Regions from separate parts of the Homo sapiens genome. Here region 1 is linked to region 2. Evidence: promoter capture Hi-C in 16 types of primary human blood cells and fetal thymus (Javierre and others, 2016). All regions are on one chromosome and are shown on one strand. The core of a region is centred on a gene start or on the middle of the fragment in contact, and the rest is flanking DNA. Distances in the headings are between cores, read along the strand shown.

Evidence for each region. The method cuts DNA at HindIII sites, captures the fragments that hold promoters and counts their contacts. A CHiCAGO score of 5 or more calls a contact.
Region 1: the fragment with the promoter of CRTC3-AS1 here is called in contact with the fragment with the promoter of IDH2 in region 2 in 1 of 17 cell types (fetal thymus); the score reaches 5.2 in fetal thymus.

Annotation. Positions count from the first base shown.
Region 1 is chr15:90,714,816-90,719,684 of GRCh38, reverse strand. CRTC3-AS1 (CRTC3 antisense RNA 1) reads left to right here and starts at 2,545. Exons shown (of 4, transcript NR_120372.1): 1 at 2,545-2,704. BLM (BLM RecQ like helicase) reads right to left here and starts at 2,339. Exons shown (of 22, transcript NM_000057.4): 1 at 2,245-2,339. The HindIII fragment of the contact is 2,609 bases long and covers 2,345-4,869 here.
Region 2 is chr15:90,100,149-90,104,694 of GRCh38, reverse strand. It overlaps IDH2 (isocitrate dehydrogenase (NADP(+)) 2), which reads left to right and starts at 2,227. Exons shown (of 11, transcript NM_002168.4): 1 at 2,227-2,419. The coding sequence starts at 2,305. It overlaps IDH2-DT (IDH2 divergent transcript), which reads right to left and starts at 2,563. Exons shown (of 3, transcript NR_149130.1): 1 at 2,317-2,563; 2 at 1,243-1,315. RefSeq lists silencers at 2,017-2,476, 2,797-2,866, 3,357-3,446, 3,507-3,556 and enhancers at 2,091-2,945, 2,946-3,801. The HindIII fragment of the contact is 3,688 bases long and covers 855-4,542 here.

The DNA.
Region 1 (4,869 bases), core at 1,296-3,795, 610 kb before region 2:
ACACCCATGTACCCACCAACCAAATTTAAAAAGTTAAACTCGGCCCTATTCTCTCTCTTTTAAAGGCATAAAACATTTCAGGTAGATTGACTGACGGACTCTCACTCTGTCACCCAGGCTGGAGTGCAGTGGTGCAATCTTGACTAACTGCAGCCTCCTGGGTTCAAGCGATTCTCGTGCCTCAGCCTCCCCAGTAGCTAGAACCACAGGCGCACACCACCACGCCCAGATAATTTTGTATTTACTATAGAGAGGGAGTTTCGCCATGTTGGTGAGGCAAGTCTCGAACTCCTGGCCTCAGGTGATTCGCCCGCCTCATCCTCCCAAAGTGCTGGGATTATGGGTGTGAGCCACTGTGCCTGGCCTCATTTCAGATATATTTAAAATCTCACTCATGGCCGGGCGCGGTGGCTCGCCTGTAATCCCAGCACCTTGGGAGGCGGAGGCAGGCGGATCACGAGGTCAGGAGATCGAGACCATCCTGGCTAACACAGTGAAACCCCGTCTCTACTAAAAATACAAAAAATTAGCTGGGCGTGGTGGTGGGTGCCTGTAGTCCCAGCTATTTGGGAGGCTGAGGCAGGAGAATGGCATGAACCCGGGAGGCGGAGCTTGCAGTGAGCCAAGATCGCGCCACTGCACTCCAGCCTGGGCGACAGAGCGAGACTCCATCCCCCAAAAACAAAAACAAAAACAAACTCACTCATTCCAGGAATGACTATGAAAAAGGAAAAAACAGATAAAAATTTAAAAATCAAAACAATAAACTATCACTCATTCCCCTTACCTTTTTCCCTTCCCTTCCTGCTCATAGGTAATACCACCTGTCCTGAAGCGGATGTGTAGAACTTCCCAGCATGATGATGTTCTACTGCACATCTAACACTTTTCCTGATTTTTTAACTCTTGGTTTCCTCAGTAAAACGAAGGAAATAACTACTTCTCCAGGTTACTGATAGGACTGTAAACTATACTTATAAGGTACCTGTCATGGTGAGTGGCATTGAAAGTGACACAGGACCCAGAAATTTCATTTCTTCCCAGTAGATTATAAGCTACTGTCTGACAGTATAAGCAGCCCAGCTAACAAAATGTTGATTTAATTAATTCTATTTACTATTCCCCAAACAGAATACTTTTGCCTACCCGCTTCTTCATCTTCTGATCTCTCATGCAGTCTCTCGAATTCCTGTCCCTTAATCTTGACAGTGACACACCAGTGTTATTTATCTGCATGGGTGGCACAAGGAGCTGTCAGTCACCTGCTCCATCTCACGCCATGAGGTACCTAAAGTTCTGTGTGACCTAAGGACAGGTGAGGGCTATAGGAGAAAGCCTAATGTTGTGGGACATACTTTAAAATCAGGCGCTTAGTTCAAATCCTGTATCTCTAGCACTTAATCACCAAATGCTCTTTCTGTACGGAGACAACCTCTTTGTACTTCAGATTCTCCATGTCTAAAATGGGGACAATTTCATCCGCTTCTCTGGGTAATGATAACAGAACCCTTACTGTGTACTATGTAACAGGTAGCCTTCGAAGCATTTATTATTGCATATATTAAGTCGTTTAATCCTAACAAAAACGCCAGGAAGTAGAAGAGACCATTTCCCCCATATGACAGACGAAAACCAAGACACTTAGTGTTTCAGTAACGTGCAGTAGACACAGAGCTAAATGTGAAGGAGCCAGAATTCGAACCCAAGCAATCTGATGCAGTATTCTTAAGCACTTCGCTTTGCTGGGATATCGTAAAGCTACAGTTGTAAGATCAAGGGTGCCAGGAACATGGCACACAGTAGACACTCAAAAACAAGAGTAGCCCAGCTCGTGATTATGGAAGGCCACAGAAAAAGTACAAAGTGTTTTCGTTGTTCCTCAGGAGGGACACGGAGGTAGTAGTGCCAGAGGTCTGGGCTGGGATTACTCTGTGCAGGGCATCATGTTACGCACTGGAGTATATGGGCAACAACATGCCAGGTCCTAGCCCATGCTCGGCCTCCGACGCCCCGGGAGACCTTGGCAGAGTTCGCCCCCGCCCCGGGCCTCTGTTTCCCCATTTGGGAACGTATTTATGTATCTGCTGTCCTCCCAGGATGTTGGCCAGACTAGAGGACTCAGCGGGCCGAGGCGAACCAGTGCAGGAAACGGAAGAACCCGAGCGGCCTCCAGCTCCGGGCCGGGCCGCCAGAGCAGGGCTAGATCAATGCGGACCGACCCGTAGTTACGCGCGCGGTACTCACCTCGCACGCAGACTCCTAGCGGACGGAACCAGGATCCAAACTTCCCGCGCCGCAACCACGGCCGCCGCGCCAAGCCCTGGCTCACTTCCCGCCGGAAGCTTGCCTATTCCGATTGGCTGCTTCCTGGGGAAGCCGACCAATACTGTCGCACTCGGACATCTGTTCCCGCCCCCTCAGGCTGCTGGGGCGGGGTCGCCGTACAGCGCCGGGAGGGACGCGTATCTCCAAAGCCCAATCAGAGTCCGGACGGGAGGGTCAGATGACTACGGTTACATCTCGGGCTTCCGGAGCTAGTTGGGTCTTTGTTTTTGGTGTTTTAGAGTCGGTGAAGGCTTTAAAGGAAGTAGGCAGCTGGAACCCGGCTGTGGCGGGTTGAAAAGCCCGGGCGTTTGAGAGCTGAGACTTGCCAGTTCCCACAGGCCAAGCCAGGCGTCTGCACCCCATTCTCTTGGTTCCGACGGTGTGTCTCTGCGATGTTTTGGCGGTCTCTCCTCTCCATCCCCTTAATAATACTGGTCTCTGTTTCACCCGTACCCCTCTACACGAGCAGGTGCAAATTGTCATTGAACCGGGAAAGTGGGCACACACTCAGATGCCTCCATGGACACGTGAGAAACCATGCTTCTGTTTCAGCCTATTGCTGACACGCGGGAATGTGGGCCCTGTGATGCCAGATCTTACTTTCTTTCCTTTCTTCCTCTCTTCTCCCCTCTCTACTTCCTTCCCTCTCTCCTTCCCTCCCGCCCTCCCTCCTCTTTGTGTGTGTGATAAAATCTATCTAACATAAAATTCACCATTTTTAAGTGTACAGTTCACTGGCATTAAGTACATTCACATTGTTGTGAAACCATCACCACTATCCATCTCCAGAACTTTTTCATTATCCCAAATAGAAAATCTGCCTGTTACACAGTAACTCCCCGTTACCCGTTTCTCACAACCCCTTATAGCCGATATTGCACTTTCTGTCTGTAAGTGCGAGGTACCGCATATAAATTGAATCATACAATAATTGCTCTTTTCTGATTGGCTTATTTCACTTAGCATAATGTCTTCAAGGAGCATCTATGTTGTAGCATGTATCAGAATTTCTTCCTTCTTGAGGCTAAATAATATTCCATTATACATGTATACTACATTTTGTTTATCCATTCATCCATATAAATGGATGCTTGGTTATTCCCACCTTTTGGCTATTGTGAATAATGCTGCTATGAACTTTGGTATACAAATAATCATTCTCCACATAATACGCAGAAAGAGTTTTCTAAAATGTAAAAATCTGTTCAAGTTACCTCCCTCCTGAAAATCTTCTATGGTAAATTGAAACCAAAATATGATACTATTAAACACTCCATAGAATAGCTGAAATGAAAAGACTGACAATTCCCTTAGTTGCAAAGATGCAGAAATGGGACTCTCATACAGTGTTGATGGGAGTGTAAAATGGTACAACCACTTTGGAAACATCAGTCTCTACTGAAATCAAATTTACCCCTACCCTATACCCCAGAAATCCCATTTCTAGATATTTACCCCAAAAAATGAATGCCTTTATTCACCAAAAGACTCATAGCAGCTTTATTCATAATAGCCAAAGGGAAAAAACCCAGATGTCCACCAATAGATGAATAGATAAATTGCAGCTTATTCATATAACTGTATACTACTGTTGAAGAATAATTTTAATATCAAATATAATACAGATATAAAATAAATGTTAGAGATTTTATTTAACTCATTAATGAATGAGATATCCAGAAAGATTACAACTGCTTCAATGGAAAATTCAAAGTACCACACACATAGTCAAATGAGGAATAATGAAATAACTACAAATATATACAAAAACTGGCAGAACTGATGAAATCCACAGCTTAGTAATCAATTGCATTCTACTGAAAACAATTTGCATTTCTTTTTTTTTTTTTTTTTTTGAGACGGAGTCTCACTCAGCCGCCCAGGCTGGAGTGCAGTGGCGCAAGCTCGGCTCACCGCAACCACCATCTCCCAGGTTCAATAGAGTCTCCCGTCTCAGCCTCCCGAGTAGCTGGGATTACAGGCACCCGCCATCATGCCCAGCTAGCTTTTTGTATTTTAGTAGAGACAGGGTTTCACCGTGTTGGCCAGGCTGGTCTCGAACTCCTGACCTCAGGTGATCCGCCTGTCTTGGCCTCCCAAAGTGTTAGGATTACAGGCATGAGCCACCGTGCCCGGCCACAATTTGCATTTCTATAGACAAGAAGTGTCTATAGTTTGTATAGTTGTTCTGTAGCTCAAAGACAGTGAAAGGTTTAGAGTCTTCATAGAATCAGACATCCTAGAAAAGTAAGCTGGACAGCTGGGCACCTTGTTTTTCAATGACACCCAGTAATCATTTTTTTGTTGTTTGTCTTAGATGGAGTCTTGCTCTGTCACCCAGACTGGAGTACAGTGGTGTGATCTCAGCTCACTGCAACCTCCACTTCCCAGGTTCAAGCGATTTTCCTGCCCCAGCTTCCCGAGCAGCTGGGACTACAGGTACGTGCCACCACGCCTGGCTAATTTATTGTATTTTTAGTAGAGATGGGGTTTCACCATGTGGTCCAGGCTGGTCATGAACTTCTGACCTCAGGTGATCTGCCT
Region 2 (4,546 bases), core at 978-3,477:
TCCCCCTCTGATCCCTCAGCAGGCAAAGACCAGACTCTGGAACACACCTACAGTGCTGCCTCTGGCCAGGCCTCTGAGATATGAGTCCAACATGCAGAGAAAGGGGCAAGTCCTTGGTGGGGGGAGGGGGACAGCAATTTCATTACCGCCATTTCAGAGGTGGCAGTATGGGTGGCTGACATACGTAAGTCTGATTGTTTGGACCAGAAGGATCTTCAGGGGTCCAGTCTTCCAGTTTACAGGTGTGGACATTGAGATCCAGGCACCTGATAATACCAGGTTGGCAGGAAAGTCAAATGCCAGAGGCTTCCATGGTCTCTACTTGTGTTTGGAGCAACAGAATTCTGAACAGAGTCAAAGGGATAAGGGGTCTTTCTGGCACAAGCTGGCCCAAGACCAGGCCTTTGACAGAGGCCTCAGACTCTGGGGGGCCCAAAAGCAGCCCTCCCTTGGGCTCAGCCTTCTGGATCCCATGGCCAGAGTAGTAGTTCTGCCGGCTAGGACTTGGTGAGGGGAGCTTTGAAGTCACTAGTTGAAGGTCACCTTCCTGGTCCAGCTCCACCTGGCAATGTTGACTGTGAGGTAGTGGAGGGGAGGGCTGAGAACACAGAAGAGAAAGGTTGCTCCTATTTGGAGTGAATTAGCGTGACTGGGAAAGCAGAGAAGGGAAAGAGGTCAGGTTTTTCCAAATAAAACCCAGCCCTCAGCTGGTGTCTTAGTTTAAGAAAACAGATGAAGAGAGAAACTTTGTTTGTGGCAGAATCAATTACAACTGTCTTTTGTGGCCAGGTGCAGTGGCTCACACCTGTAATCCCAGTGCTTTGCGAGGCCGAGGCGGGAGGATCATTTAAGCTTAGGAGCTGGAGACCAGCCTGGGCAACATAGTGAGATCCCCCCATCTCTATTTTTAATTAAAACAAACAAACAAACCCATCTTTTATATGCAAACAGGCAAAAATGGAACTGTTTCTACTGTGGCTGTTTGACTACTCTAGGGTCTCAGAAAACAACACCCCAAAATGCAGGCCTCAGGAGCAGCTCTCTCTGACCCTCTCCCTCCCTCCTGTCTTTGGCCCCTCACTCTCCTCCGAGGCCAGCCATAGAAACTGGAATCCTTCTTCCTCAAGGCAGGTCATAGAAACCAGAGCCCTTCTCCCCCAAAGCCAGACATCGAACCCAAAAATATTACTCTTTCTCCCACACATTTCTGGGTAAAAACTGGCCATAAATTATCTGACCTACCTTGTTTGCTTGCAGGTCCTAAGACCCCTCCATCCCAGAGAGAGTCCTGCCCCGTACTCAGAAGGAAGGAATGCTGCAGAGAAAGGTCAAGAAGAATCTACACGGACAGGACTTGCTGGGTTTCCCCACTCAGGTTATTGGCCTTCTGGTCCAATCATATTTCTTTTTTCGTGGTTTTTTTTTTTTTTTTTTGAGACGGAGTCTCACTCTGTTGCCCAGGCTGGAGTGCAGTGGCATGATCTCAGCTCACTGCAATCTCTGCCTCTCAGGTTCAAGTGATTCTCCCGCCTCAGCCTCCTGAGTAGCTGGGATTACAGGCGCGCGCCACCATGCCCGATCAATTTTTGTATTTTTAGTAGAGACAGGGGTTTCATTATGTTAGCCAGCCTGGTCTCGAACTCCTGACTTCAAGTGATCCGCCTGCCTCGACCTCCCAAAAGTTCTAGGATTACAGACGTGAGCCACCGCGCCCGGCCCAAAGTGAGATTTCAACTCTCTCTACACCAGCTGGACCTGACAGCGGACTCGCGGAGGCGCAGACGCCGCCGGCGGTCTTAGCTCAAGAATGAAGCAGCCGCACTGGGCTAATGCGCCTTTGGGTTCAGCCCGGCAGGCGAGGGAAGCAAGAGTTCGCTCAGATTGGCTTTTGGGTTTAAGCTAAAGCGTCAGAAACTGACATCCAGGTTTACATGGGGCATCCTGGAGAGGGTCAGCCTCGCAAGCGGCTCTGCTAATCCCCCAGCCCTGATCCCGCTCGCGGGTCCCGGTGGGTCTCACGCCTGTAGCTCCTGCGGAGCTGGGCTTTCAGCGGCGCCCAGAGAAGCACCAGCCGGGCCTGGCCGCCGGGTCCCGGCTCCCGCGGGACGCTGGAGGCGTCGGCGGCCCTGGCCCCGCCTCCTCCCCGGCAAGGCCCAATGGGGCGGCAGGCCCGGCAGCCCCGCCCCGGTGGTGCCCGCGCGGCCAGCGCCCGCCAGGCCCAGCGTTAGCCCGCGGCCAGGCAGCCGGGAGGAGCGGCGCGCGCTCGGACCTCTCCCGCCCTGCTCGTTCGCTCTCCAGCTTGGGATGGCCGGCTACCTGCGGGTCGTGCGCTCGCTCTGCAGAGCCTCAGGCTCGCGGCCGGCCTGGGCGCCGGCGGCCCTGACAGCCCCCACCTCGCAAGAGCAGCCGCGGCGCCACTGTGAGTGCCGCGCGGAGGGTCCAGGCAGGCGCGCGCCCCCAGCTGCGACGTGGCGGCTTCCCAGGCTGGGGCCGGGAAGCACGTCCCGCCAGCCCGCAGCCCGGGGACGGCGGGGTCAGGCGCACAAAGGGCCGCGGGGCAGCTTCGCTCCGCGCTCCCCCGCCCGGCGCTTCCCGGCCGTGCCAGGCGCTGGGGTGGGGACTTGAGGGACGGTGGCAACTGGTGGCCCGGGCGACGGCCAGCTCTGCGCGGGCGGGGGCTCGGGGCTGCCGCGCGCCCCTAGGTATTTCGGGAGGGGGTCCTGAGAGTGTCCCGGACCCGAAGGGTGGCCTGCCCGCCCTGCGCCCCTGGAACGAGACGAGCACCCGTGGGGGGCTGGAGCACCCCGCGCGCTCCCCTGGCGAGAGGGAGGGTCGTGGCTCGGCCCCTGCTCAGACAAAGGCTGGGAGGCGGGAGACATGCACTTCCCCTTCCTTTTCAGCCAGGCGCGCGCTGATACCAGGCCCACGTCAGCTATTTTTGGAGCCTTTTACACGACAGCTGGAGGAGCGTCCTTTTTAATTTTCCCCTTTTGTTTGGCCGCCCCCACCCCCACCCCTTCGCCTTCATCGCTGCACTTGAGGCTCCATCCTGGGGCCTCTCCTTGACTTGACCTGCCTTGGCAGGCACATGCCCTCCCTGCCTGGCTCACTCGCCGCAGAGACCTGGCAGCCCGCGCAAAATGTCACTTTGCGGAATCGTTCCCACGGCTTCTGGGTACCCTTAGTTCCCTGCTTAGGAGGGAAGACAGTAGTCGGGTCGTAATAAGCAAGACTTAGCCCGAGCCTCCGTTGCCAACGCAGGCTGCCTTGCTTGGCGTGTGGGCATCGGCCTGCCCCCTCACCCTGGCTACCCAACACAGCTACAAAAGGCAGGGAACAATGTAGGTCCCTTGGCCCTGCCTAATGCCTGTTGCCATGGAAACCCCTATCCTAATCTGGCCAGGAGCCCCTTGCAGTGAGCCAGGAGAGTGAGGAAGAGGGGATGGGGCCCGCTGGCCCTGACCTGGCCAGAGGAGGTAATGGTTAACCGGATTGTGGGAGCAGCTGACTAGAGCCGGGGGGGTAGGGAGGCTTGGGCCCCAGTCCTACCTTCCCTGCCAAGGAGAAAGGGGCATGTCTGCTTTTGTACCTCTGGGAATCTACCTCAGGGATCTGCCCAACAACTCCCAGGTTCCAAGTGCCCCAGGACCCAAAGATTCCCATATAGCACACCACCTTCAGCAAAAATATGGTGGAAGTTAGCCACATTCTTTAATTCTCCCTTTTTTTCTGCCTTGATGGTAAAAAAAAAAAAAAGAAACAAACAACCCGAAAAACACACACAAACAGGAACACAAAGCGCCTTTTAAGGGTCCTGAATTTGGATACAGAAAAAGCAGTCAGTTGCAGGCCCTTCTAGAAGTCCCCATGTGGGTTGGTTATGAATGGGGAAATTGCTTGGTGTTGGAGTTGGACATCAGACTCTACAGTTGCGACTCTGCCAGCTTGTTACCTGGCAACGCAGCTGGAGACAGAATACTTGGCATTCCCCTTGATGACAAGGAAAGAATATTTTGGGGCTAAAAGAGCCCCGTGTCTTTGCTGCCTGGTAATTCCTGCACGCATCTTTTCCTATTTTGCAACGCCATAGGCTTCCAGCGACTGCTGGTGATGTTTCTGGTAAGTTAGAGCTTGGGGCAGTGCGGACCAGTTCTGTGAACGGCTCAGTGGCAGAATTACTTATCTAGCCTTCCTTCACTCCTAACCCAGAAACTTCTTAATTCTTGCCCCTTAAGTGTGCAGATCTTTCTGCCACGTCAGATAAGGCCCTAGCTGCCCTGCCAGAGCTGATTGGGGTGGTTGTGTTTAGGCCTAGTAGGTACTGAGGAAAAGCCTCTTTGGAATGGCTGAGGCCTGCTCCCACATCTTCTGTGTGAAGTTGAGGGCCCTTGGGCTGGTTCCATTCAGGGTATGAGGTGCTGGAAACTGCTCTCAGATTACTGGAAGCCAGGGTCTGTGGCCTTCCCTGGGGTTTATACTCTGTAAACCCATGTTAAAAATACCAGCAGATTGCAAATATTAGTACACTGTAGGTTGTAAGCTTCTT